2 separate regions of the Homo sapiens genome follow, and region 1 is linked to region 2. Evidence: promoter capture Hi-C in 16 types of primary human blood cells and fetal thymus (Javierre and others, 2016). All regions are on one chromosome and are shown on one strand. The core of a region is centred on a gene start or on the middle of the fragment in contact, and the rest is flanking DNA. Distances in the headings are between cores, read along the strand shown.

Region 1 (6,107 bases), core at 1,123-3,622, 640 kb after region 2:
GGTGACTGTGCCTTCCCAGTTTGCCTGTTTGGGGGCCCAGCACAACACAAGGAAGAACGCAAGCCAAGGTCTTTCTTTGCTTGGATGATTTCTATGCATTTCTCAGGACCCAGATTAGTGTCATCTCCTTGGAAAGCCATCCCTTACCCTTCAGCCTTGGTTAGGGCCTTTCTGAAGTGTCCACCCCTGCATCCCCCAAGTCCCCAAGCTTTCCTCTGTCATTGTACGTGTAACAGGGATTGCAGCTTTTTCCTCACCAGCTGAGCTCCTTAAAGAAAGGAACCACATCATGTTCATCTTCCTTTCCCCAGTACCTAGTAAAGTGCCTAGTACATAATAAGTCCTCAGCAAATGAATTTCTACACAGGAACCACCAGAATCCAAGCACAATGAGAGGAAGGCCACCTTTTACTCTAACTCCGCCTACTCACTTTATCTTGAATTTATTAACATCCTAGGCTAAGAGCCATTTTATATCTCAACAGAAACAGCAATCTTAGAAAATATCTTCAAGTAACTCTTAAATTAGGATACTATTAAGCCTCCTGGCTAATCTTAGAGCCCTTCGATGGTAGTTTTTTGATTTATATAACCAGTTTCTAAAACACATCTTCACTCACTAATAAACCGACACGTATGTGGGTCATTCTTCTGAAATTTGTGTTTTATTCTAACTGTATATGAAGACTTTGATTTGGTTGTACATGAGAATTTAATCTTTCCACTATGGTGGTAATTTTTTATTTGTCTTAGAGCCTCAGATGTGGCCACCCTGGGTACAACAGGGCATATCATTTCTGTCTCATCTGTAACCTACAGGATCAAGCAGACCTGAGCTCAGATTTCAGCTCACCCACTTCCACCACAGACTTGCCTTTCTGAGCCTCCTGTAAAATGAAAATGATCATATTTATGCTGGAGAGTGTAACAGGATGTGAACATGGAAGTCCTTTCTGTCTCCATTTCAACCGAAGCTCAAAGGCCTTCAACAAAACAAGTTCTCAGGTTCCAAAGTGAGGTGCCAAGCGCCCCCTGCAGGAACTGCAGAGCAAAGGCGCTTTCTCCTCACCCCAGTCCAGTGAGAGGTGCTCTTAGGGGAATAACGGGAGAGACAAACACTTATCTCTTAGAGTTTAGTGGAAGAAGAAAAAAGAATGAGAAATTTAAAGGTCAAGGCTGTGCCAGAGCAGGAAAGGGGCTGCATCATGGGCAGCCTGCCCATCCTCCAACGTCAGCCAGAGACACTCAGCTCTACGTTCCAGACGTGGGCTCCCAGGAGAGCTCTCTGGGGTGCATTTTGAAAGGCCCCCAACCTGAGGTGACATTCTGCCATGGGCAAGCCAGCCTCAGCAGGGGCTGGAGGCGTTCCACAGAGCAGAAAGGGGGACGCGGTCGTGTGTGGGGGGCGTCAAAAGCAAGGCAGCAGCATTGCCCCAGTCAGGCCTGTTGCCACACTGGGGGCAGAGGGAAAGCTTTCTCTCTGCCCACTGAAGGTTTGCAGAGCATAAACTGATGAAATGCAGATACACAGGAGAAAAAGGCATACGAAATTTACTTAATGTGCATAGAAGAAAATCACAAGACTATGATTACCCAGTAACCCGATGAGGCCCGGCTGCTTATATTCTTCTCCATGGGGAAAGGGAGACAGGGGTTGTAGGAGTAAATGATTTCCAAAGGAAATGAATGAGCCAAAGAACGATGGCTGGGGACAAAGTTCCTTTGAGCACTGGGGAAGGCGGCAGGAAGGTGAGGGGTGGACTATTACTGTGAACAAGTGTTCTTTTTTTTTTTTTTTTTTTTTGAGACAGAGTCTCACTCTGTCACCCAGGCTGGAGTGCAGTGGCATGATCTTGGCTCACTGCAACCTCCACCTCCCGGGTTCAAGCAATTCTCCTGCCTCAGCCTCCCCAGTAGCTAGGACTACAGGTGCGCACCACAACGCCCGGCTAATGTTTGTATTTTTAGTAGAGACGGGGTTTCACCATGTTGGTCAGGCTGGTCTCAAACTCCTGACCTCAGGTGATCCACCTGCCTCAGTCTCCCAAAGTGCTGGGATTACACACACACATGAGCCACCGCCCAGACCATCAATGTTGTCTTATTATGCAGATAAAGTCTCCCAGGCAATCTCTCAGGGCTGCTGTCAGAAGAATAGTTAAAAGCTCCACCTGGTTCGGTGGCTCACCCCTGCAATCCCAGCACTTTCAGAGGCCGAGGCGGACAGATCACCTGAGGTCAGGAGTTTGAGACCAGCCTGGCCAACATGGGGAAACCCTGTCTCTACTAAATACAAACATTAGCCAGTGTGGATGCAAGTGCCTGTAATCCCAGCTACTGGGGAGGCTGAGGCAGGATAATCACTTGAACCTGGGAATTGGAGGTTGCAGTGAGCCAAGATCAAGCCACTGCACTCCAACCTGGGTGACAGAGGGAGACTCCGTCTCAAAAAAAAAAAAAAAAGAAGAAGAATAGTTGAAGGCTGCGTACAGTGGCTCACACCTTTAACCCAGCACTTTGGGAGGCTGAGGTAGGAGGGCCCTTTCAGCCCAGTAGTTTGAGACCAGCCGGGGCAACATGACAAAACCCTGTGTCTACACACACACACACACACACACACACACACATACACACAAACACAAAAGCCAGGCACACAGCTGTAGTCCCAGCTACTCTGGAGGCTGAAGTGGTGGAGGCTGAGTTAGGAGGATTGCTTGACCCTGGAAGGTAGAGGCTGCAGTGAGCTGTAATCTCGCTACTGTACTCCACACTGGTTGACAGAGTGAGCTGCTGTCTCAAAAAAAATTTTTTTTGGCCGGGAGCGGTGGCTCACGCCTGTAATCCCAGCACTTTGAGAGGCCAAGGCGGGTGGATCACAAGGTCAGGAGCTCGAGACCAGCCTGGCCAAGATGGTGAAACCCCATCTCTACTAAAAATACAAAAATGAGCCGGGCACAGTGGCAGGTGCCTGTAATCCCAGCTACTTGGGAGGCTGAGGCAGGAGAATAGCTTGAACCCAGGAGGCAGAAGTTGCAGTGAACCAAGATCGCACACTCTAGCCTGGGCAACAGAGCAAGACTCTGTCTCAAAAAAAAAGGTTTTTTTTACTAATAATTTAAAATTTACATAATAAAATAAAAATAGATGGAAAGTCTATCTGGGTATGGTGATGACTCCCAGTCTCTTCTATTCTCGGGTAGTTGATCATTCCTGGCTATCTGATGAGGTTCCTAGAGAGAGGGGTCTTAAAATAATTGCATTTATTTTGGAAAGAAGCTTTGTTAGTCAGATAAGGAAATTCCAGAGAGAGTTCCTGGGAAAGAAAGAGAAACAAAGAGACAGAAAAGCTGGGAAAAGTCAAGAGAGGGAACTTGGTTCTGAGGCTTATCTCTGAGGCCTTTCAATTTCAAGAAGTAAACTCCATGAGTTTGAAAGAGTTGGCTTAATCTTCTCAGTGTACACAATCAAATATGTACATAATTATATACGTACATAATCGTATAAATTCAGTGTATATAATTGTATAAATTTATGAAAGTTGTTATCCCCTACTGTTTCCCAGAAAACCCTTGACTCGGAGATGGGAAGAACTTGCATTCATTGTGCACCCCTTAGACAACTGTCTGTTCCATCACACACCAAGGCCTTCATGGACATCTCTGGCCCTGCTGAAATGGAATAAAGAAACTCCCGGCCAGGCGCGGTGGCTCACACCTGTAATCCCAGCACTTTGGGAGGGTGAGGCGGGCAGATTACGATGTCAAGAAATTGAGACCATTCTAGCCAACATGGTGAAACCCCGTCTCTACTAAAAATACAAAAATTAACCGGGCGTGGTGGTGGACATCTGTAGTCCGAGCTACTCGGGAAACTGAGGCAGGAGAATTGCTTGCACTAGGAGGTGGAGGTTTCAGTGAGCCGAGATCGCGCCACTGTACTCCACCCTGGGTGACAGAGCAAGACTCTCTCAAAAAAAAAAAAAAAAAAAAAAAAGTAAGCATTTGGTCTAAATTATGCAAGTCAGATATTAAGTTTACTAAATGCTTTAAGGTCATAAAGTGCTTCTTTGTCTTTTGAAAATTGTTCAATTTACCTACTTTGGAGCATTAGATTCTAAATAAAGACTAGGATATGTGGAATTAGCCATGCCCCCTAGCTATGCAAAGAAGGTTATAAAGAAAAGATTTTAAGGCTGGGTGTGGTGGCTCACACTCATAATCCCAGCATTTTGGGAGGCCGAGGAGGGTGGATTACTTGAGGTCAGGAGTTTTAGACTAGCCTGGCCAACATGGCAAAACCCCATCTCTACTGAAAATACAAAAATGAGCCGGGAGTGGTGTCAGGCACCTGTAATCTCAGCTACTCAGGAGGCTGAGGCAGGAGAACCATTTCAACCCGGGAGGTGGAGGTTGTAGTGAGCCAAGATCGGGCCACTGCACTCCAGCCTGGGCGATAGGGCAAGACTCTGTCTCAAAAAAAAAAGAAAGAAAAGAAAAGAAATAAAAGAAGAAATTTTGTATAAGAAAGGATGTTGTATGGTGAATACTTGTCCTAAAGTAAAATGACTGATTGCTTTAAAAAAGGGAATTTATGCAAGAAATATATAAGTTAAAGGTTTCTGGGTCTCCTAAATGCTTCATAAAATGCCATTAGGACTCTTAACTGTACAACTTTCCTGCTTTACAGCTAGATAAGGCCTGGGACACATGAAGTTAGACAACGAAAAGAGTCAGACCTTATCTGCACTTCTGTCTACTGTCACAGGCTCCACACCTAGCACATAATTAAAAATCTGAACTCAACCAGGCACAGTGGCTCACGCCTGTAATCCCAGAACTTTGGGAGTCCGAGACAGGTGGATCACGAGGTCAAGAGATTGAGACCATCCTGGCCAACATGGTAAAACCCTGTCTCTACTAAAAATACAAAATTTAACTAGGCATGGTGGTGCTACTTGGGAGGCTGTGGGAGGAGAATCACTTGAACCCGGGAGGCTGCGGTTACAGTGAGCTGAGATCGGGCCACTGCACTCCAGCCTGGCAACAGAGCAAGACTCCGTCTAAAAAAAAAATTCTGAACTTACCAAGGTTTTCACCAAAAGTAAAAGTTGCTAAGAGTTAACAGTGTAACATATATTTGGGACTACTAAAAAAAAAGTTATACGTGCAAGGTGTATAGAAAAAGTGAAATGTGGCCGGGTGCGGTGGCTCATACCTGTAATCCCAGCACTTTGGGAGGCCAAGGCGGGCGGATCACCTGAGGTCAGGAATTCGAGACCAGCCTCAACATGGAGAAACCCCGTCTCTACTAAAAATACAAAATTAGCCGGGCGTGGTGGTGCATGCTTATAATCCCAGCTACTCAGGAGGCTGAGGCAGGAGAATTGCTTGAACCTGGGAGGTGGACGTTGCAGTGAGCCGAGATCACACCATTGCACTCCAGCCTGGGCAACAAGAGCGAAACTCTGTCTCAAAACAAAAAAAAAGTGAAGTGTGTTTTTGGTAAAAGATAAGAAGTCATGGGAATGTGGATTTTTTTTTTTTTTTGCCTAGATTAAAGGGTTAAAGAATTGTTTTGAGTGAGATAGGAAAAATCTAAAGGTTTAAACAAGTTATGAGAGATTTGCGAAAAAAATTAAATGTAAAAAAAAATTCTGTGTGTGAACATATTGGCTAAAATTAAAGGGGTATTCAGTTTTTCTGTAAATTAAACATTGGAATAAAAGCACAACAGGTTTTTCTTAGACAAAAACCTGCTTATGATCTGCTCTTTAACAAAAGTTGTAAAGGGTTATAAAAGGCTATGAAAATCTTACCTTGTGGTCAAACTAAATAAAATTGGCTACATTTATCTATAACGTTTTATCAAGAATTGAGTTTGACATCAATAATGCACTAATGCAACAGTGATATTTGGCTTATTTGGTATAAAAATCATACAGGAAGCATTATCAAATATGAAATGGTGTTTTGCTTACTTGGGGCTGTATTTGTATAAATGTGTTATTAGTATATGTTGCAAAATTATAAAAAAACTCCTATATTTCTGATATGACTTAGTGTATGTTATTAATAATTATAATTGTTATGTGAAATTGTTGTGTACCA
Region 2 (6,737 bases), core at 381-2,880:
AAAGCAAACCAGAAACAGAGTACATATTGTGATTTTCCACTAAAATGAAATTCCAGAAAAGGTCAAATTAATCTCCAGCAAAAGAGGATGAAATAATGGTTAACTTTTACAGGTGGGAGGGGTAATGTACTGGAAGAGGACAGTAGGGAGATTTTTAAAGTTTTGAAAGTATTCTATATTTTTATAATCATATATATTTACCTATTATTATTATTTGAGACATAGTCTCATCCTGTTGCTCAGGCTGGAGTGCAGTGGCGCCATCTCGGCTCACTGCAACCTCTGCCTCCTGGGTTCAAGCGATTCTCATGTCTCGGCCTCCCGAGTACCTGGGATTACAGGCGCACCTCCACCACCACGCCCAGCTAATTTTTTTTTTGTATTTTTAGTAGAGAAGGGGTTTCACCATGTTGGCCAGGCTGGTCTCAAACTCCTGACTTCAAGTGATCTGCCTGCCTCGGCTTCCCAAAGTGCTGGGATTACAGGCGTGAGCCACCGCTCCTGGCCTATAATCATACATTTAAAAGCCACATACGGAAGAATTTTCTAGGACAATGTCAACTCTCCATTAAAAAACTTTTCACACCCCAACCACATAAATATGTAAAAATTTGAGTTTTACCCTTATGATTTGTGCATTTTACTGTCTATAAATTACATCTTGATAAAAATGTAAATAAAAACAAATAAAAATGAATGTTCCTTGAATGAGTGAATAAACGAATGAATGAGTTGTGTTTTCAAAGAGGAAAATAAAGACATTACCGTGAAAGAGGATCTTGTACTGCATTGAATTTTTAAGTAGTGCTTAGTTCTTGCACTTTCTTTGCTCTAATGATGCCCAAAATAATTGTTCGTTTACTTACTTTGCTTAAGTATTAATTTCCTTTGCTATTTAGCCACGACTGTGAAGTTAAGACAAGAAAGTCATCAACAGTAATGCAGATGATGTAAATACCTTGTGGGACTGGCATTTAATTTACTGCGAGGGATCTATTAAGCTCTTGGGGAATTGGGGAATATGCCTAATTCCCTTCTGGCGTTTTTAATTTTTTTAATCCTTTTGTGTTTTATGAGATGTGAGTACAAATTAATTATTCAGACTCTTGAGAGAGGAGACGAGTTGGCGGAGTTGCCACCCGTGTTCACGAACAGGAACAGAAGCCACCAGCACATGACATTGCCCAAGCCACCCAGAGATCAGAGTGGAAGAGTCCTAATTGCTGGGCGGCCCAGCCCCGGGATGTGCCTCTCCCATCCTTCTCCAGGCGGGGCTCGTGGCTAAGCAGCGACTCACCCTGCCAGCCTGTCACAGGCCAAGAGCGGCCAACAACTCCGCAGGCGACAATGGCCGCTGCACCCCAGGCGCTGTGGAAGCCCGACCCGGCTCTGGGTCCCATCTTAGAGCCTGGGATGCAGTGTCGGGAGTCGCGGTGCCCAGAGCATCCAGTAGGTGTCGCTGTCCCACGGCCGCCGCGCGCCCCCGGGGTGGGGAGCCGGGGCGTGTCTGCCTCACCTGGGGCTCCCGGCGCGAGCGCCTCACCTGGGCTAGCGCCCCTTGCCGCCCGCGCCGCGCGGGGGCGCTCTTCCGCGGCTGGGTCCCCGCCTCCGCCCCAACAGCTCGGGCTGCAGTGCTGCTCGCGCTGCGCTGGGTGCTGGTTCTGCAACCCGCGGCCGTCCCCCCGCATCCGCGACGAGGGGGCGGGGTCCCACGGCGCGCTGAGAAAGGCGGGCGAGCTGGCGCTCAGGTGTGTTCTTCCATAGGGCCCGGGCGGCAGAGAGGACCGCGTCCCGGCAGTCGGAGCGGGAGGAGGACAAGACGATGCCGCTGTCCCCGCCAGCCCAGGGCGACCCCGGGGAGCCCAGCCCGTGCAGGCCCCCTAAGAAGCACACCACCTTCCACCTCTGGCGCTCCAAAAAGAAGCAGCAGCCGGCGCCGCCTGACTGTGGGGTGTTCGTTCCGCACCCGCTCCCGGCGCCTGCCGGAGAGGCCAGGTGAGCTCCTCGCCCGAGCCCTCCAGTCCCACCTCCTCCTCCTCCTCCTTCTCCTGCTGCGCTAGCCCTTGGACTCCTGACCCCACTTGGAGGAGGGGAAAGCCCCGGGGTCTGTTTCAGTCCGCAGGAGGGTACCCGGGTCCGGAGGGGAGCGATCGTAGCCGCTGGGGTTGACGAGGTTCCTCGCGGCTTTTGGTTCAGACCAAGCACCGGCGAGAGGAACTTGTGCCCACGCATGTGGCCTTTAGTATGACTGCAAAGTTTTCATGCAGGAGCCTCCCGCATCAGCCTGCTAACCAGAGCGGCGGGGAGTGAGGGTTGTTACCGTCCTAAATGATGGCGGGAACTCTGCTTTGGGGTTAGGCACTGCTTTTGAGCTAGTGTCTTTATTGTAAAGCTCTTTATTGTGAATATCTGTAAGATCTGTGCTCTTACAGATGTTATACCCCCATTCTCCTCGCAACATACGAAGGGAGGAGGAAGTGGCAGGAATGGTTACCCCCATTTCATGGGTGGAGGAACTGAGACCAAAGGATAAATGGCTTCTCCCCATTGGAGCCAGTGGCAGAGCTAGAGAGCACCTAGTTATCAAAACTGTAGTTACCATTGTGCTTTTTGATTTTTATCATGGTTTTGAAGTGGTTTTATTCTATATGTATAATTATTCAACTATAGCATCAGAGTTTATGCATTCGTTGAATAATAATCAATTTGAAGTAACAGCGTATTTACATGGCTCAGAGGTGTGAAATATTTATAGTGATGGACAATTGACAATGTCCAGTAAATCCTTCCAAATGTGTTTTTAAAATACACCCTATGAGGGCCAGAATAAAATTGTGCAAAATTTGCATTTTAGACATGGTTTTCCTTTTATTTCTTTCTTTCTTTTTTTTTTTTTTTTTCTGAGACGGAGTCTTGCTCTGTCACCCAGGCTGGAGTGCACTGGCCCAATCCCGGCTCACTGCAAGCTCCACCTCCCGGGTTCACGCCATTCTCCTGCCTCAGCCCCCGAGTAGCTGGGACCACAGGCGCCCGCCACCACGCCCGGCTAATTTTTTGTATTTTTAGTAGAAACGGGGTTTCACCGTGTTAGACAGGATGGTCTCGATCTCCTGACCTCATGATCCGCCCGCCTCGGCCTCCCAAAGTGCTGGGATTACAGGCATGAGCCACCGCGCCCGGCCTCTCCTTTTATTTGTAAAAAAAGTCAATTTTACGATCTATTTTCATTCACTTATTGTATTGAGTACCTTAGCTAAGTGCCATGTACTGCGATATAAAAAACAATGAGAGACAGGAATAATTGTGTCATCAAAGAATTGTTAGTCTCTTGTGGATACCAAAAAATGCAATGATAGATGCCAGCACACAGGAGGGGATCAGGGAGGCTTCCTGGAGGAGGATAGGTGAAGTGGCTTAGGCAGAAACAGGGAGGAGCAGCGAGTTCCAGGCAGGGGCTGCACTGTGCACATCACCAGCACTTAGAAGAGCGTGGCACTTCCTGAGAAGCGCAAGTGGTTGCAGCGGGGAGGTCTAGGTGTGAGTGGGTAAGGGTAGGAAACCTAAGAAAGAAGTCATTTTATTTTTCTCTCATATTTTATCATCCACATTGGTAATCAGTTGTAGTAGAAATATATTACCTATTCAAACGTTTACTGTGCCTAATTATAGATTATACTTTCTAACAAAATACAGTATTTAATGTACCCAACATTGAAGTTCTTTTCTATTACCTCAGTAAATATTTTAAACATTTCCATCGTGGTTTTCCTTTTAAGATCTAGTCTTATCATTTACTGTCTATCAAAACATAATAATACACAGCTATAGGTAATTTATTCAAATGTAAATACATTTTAGTATAAAATTTAAAATAGGAGGCCGGGCGCGGTGGCTCACGCCTGTAATCCCAGCACTTTGGGAGGCCGAGACGGGCGGATCACGAGGTCAGGAGATCGAGACCATCCTGGCTAACACGGTGAAACCCCGTCTCTACTAAAAATACAAAAATTAGCCGGGCATGGTGGCGCGCGCCTGTAGTCCCAGCTACACGGGAGGCTGAGGCAGGAGAATGGCGTGAACCCGGGAGGCGGAGCTTGCAGTGAGTCGAGATCGCGCCACTGCACTCCAGCCTGGGCGACAGAGCGAAACTCCGTCTCAAAAAAAAAAAAAAAAAAAAAAAATTAAAATAGGAGATTTGCTTCTCTCCTTGAGTTTTTTTATATTTTAGTGCAGTCTTGAAACACTTCATTTTTTCCTTCAGAACCGTGATGAACTTCGTATTAATAAATGTTCTGAAAAACTAAACGTACTAGTCTGTCTTTGGGATGTTTTTCTAGTTAGATCATCTTTATAAATATTTCATTTACTTCTAAGAGAGTGTACTTCTTTCTGGTTTAAAGAGAGTGGCAAAAGCACCCTTAGATTTCAAGCCAGTTTGCCCAGTGTGGCTCTCTTAAGCCTCCTGACCATATCCCTTCATTTCTGTCCAGGACTTGGAAGTGATGGAATTTGGCTGGAATGTGCAGCACTCACTGTGGTTTTTGTCTCTAAATAAGGAGGGGACAGTCAGGTAGCCACCCATATTTGCTTATTTGATTAATATTATGGGTGTTTAGGTCAGAAAAAAATGAATTTATCTACTAGCTTTGTGACCTTGGGCAAGTTATTTCACCTCTTAAAATCTCAATTTCCTCATCTGTAATATGGAGACAATAGGATGCTGACTCTGTAGGGTTGTCATGAATATTAAATGAAAGTTTATGTTATTAAGTGCAAAAACCTTAACACACTTCTGAGCACAAAGTAGAAACTCAGTAAATGCAAAAGCATCCTGGTCATCATCATCATCATCATCATCATCAAAGCAAAGGTCTAATGGAAGAAATGGAAAAGATAGGTTTGGATAGGGGAAAACCAACTCTAGGAAGATCTTTTCCTAGAAAAGTTTACCAGTCCAGCCGGGTGCGGTCACTCACGCCTCTAATCCCAGTACTTTGGGAGGCCAAAGCAGGTGGATCACCTGAGGTCAGGAGTTTGAGACCAGCTTGGCCAACATAGTGAAACCTCATCTTTACTAAAAGTACAAAAAAATTAGCTGGGCATGGTGGCTCACACCTGTAATCCCAGCTACTCAGGAGGCTGAGACAGGAGAATCCCTTGAACCCAGGAGATGAAGGTTGTGGTGAGCCAAGATCATGCCATCGCACTCTAGCCTGGGCAACAAGAGTGAAACTCCATCTCAAAAAATAAAAAAAAAAAGAAAGAAAAGCTTGCCAGTCCAAAGATGATTTAAAGTTTATTAAAGTCAGATTTTCGTATTCTGCAAATATTTGTGGCTTTTGGTATAGACATTCTAATCAATTATTTCTTTATATGAAATAATTTGAACTTGGCTACTTCTCTTTCCAAAATTTACTCTTAAAGTTTTTTTTCAGCTTGGTTTTGGTAAACATGGTCATATGATGTTATTTTTCACAAAGATAGAGTTGCTGCCCTCCTGAGTCAGCCCCATCCCCTGTCTAGTCCATAATTCTCTTGCCATTAGAGGGTCTAGTGGTGTGGTGGAATGAGCATGGCGAGCTGTGGCCAGGCCACTTAGCAGCCACTAGTGGCACTGTCATTTACCACATTTTAAATTATACTCTGTCTTGTGAATAATGTGCTCAGAATGTGGATTCTCTACTTGGATTTAAATTCTTGTTCTTCTGTTAATACTTACCATGACACTGAATCCTATCATCCTAGGAAAGTTATTAACATTTTTGTGCCACAATTTTCTCATTCACAAAATGGGAATCATAAGAGTTGTTATAAAAATAAACGAGTTAATGCATTTCAAGTGCTCAGAACAGTGGTTGGCACATAGTATGTGCTCAACCAATGGGAGTTGTTTCTCTTTTTCTTACTAGTTTCTTGCTTATGCCTCCTTTGGAGTAGGAATTTTGTGTGTTTTTCTGCTATATAATGAAAGTGGTACTTTCTTTTTATCTATTCAAGCCACTTTGTGTTATTTTGGTTTTTTTAAATATTAAAAATAGTAAAAATATTAAAACATAAAAAGGCTGCATGTGGTGGCCCACACCTGTAATCCCAGCACTTTAGGAGGTGGAGGCGGGTGGATCACCTGAGGTCAGGAGTTCAAGACCAGCCTGGCCAACATGGTGAAACCATGTATGTAAAAATACAAAAAATTAGCCAGGGGTGGTGGCGGACGCCTGTAATCATAGCTACTTGGGAGGCTGATGCAGGAAAATCACTTGAACCTGGGAGGTGGAGGTTGCAGTGATCTGAGATCGTGCCATTGCACCCCAGACTGGGTGACAGAGTGAGACTCTGTCTCAAAAAAAGCAAAACGAAACAAAACCAAAAAAAAAAAAACATAAATAGAGACAGGGTCTCACTATGTTGCCCAGGCTGGTCTCAAACTCCTAGGCTCAAGCAGTCCTCCCGCCTTGGCCTCCCAAGTGCTAGGATTACGGGTGTGAGCCACCACATGTGGCCATACTTTTTGTTATTTTGATTAGAAGTGGGTCCTTAGCTAAAGGTCAAAAGCAGTGAATTATTTCCATTGAGTTCTTTGTTTAAGAACCTGTATTTTTTTTTAAAAAAAGCAGTGAATTAAAAATTATCACCATTGAACTGAATTGAACTCCACATCTAGAAACAAGCATTAATGCTCCCTGCAGGAGAGCCAAATTCAAGCAGTAGATGGGTCTCATAATCCTGTGAAAATCAGC

Evidence for each region. Contacts are between HindIII fragments. The CHiCAGO score rates a contact against its expected background, and 5 or more counts as called.
Region 1: a fragment that was not itself captured here is called in contact with the fragment with the promoter of CRYBG1 in region 2 in 10 of 17 cell types (neutrophils, M2 macrophages, M1 macrophages and 7 more); the score reaches 13.4 in neutrophils.

The regions. Positions count from the first base shown.
Region 1 is chr6:106,996,774-107,002,880 of GRCh38, forward strand. No RefSeq gene overlaps it. Among named protein-coding and RNA genes, the nearest start is that of CD24, 25 kb to the left of the region's middle. The HindIII fragment of the contact is 1,804 bases long and covers 1,471-3,274 here.
Region 2 is chr6:106,359,087-106,365,823 of GRCh38, forward strand. CRYBG1 (crystallin beta-gamma domain containing 1) reads left to right here and starts at 1,631. Exons shown (of 22, transcript NM_001371242.2): 1 at 1,631-1,995. The coding sequence starts at 1,823. RefSeq lists silencers at 1,432-1,641, 1,662-1,741 and an enhancer at 1,637-2,503. The HindIII fragment of the contact is 8,941 bases long and covers 1-5,267 here.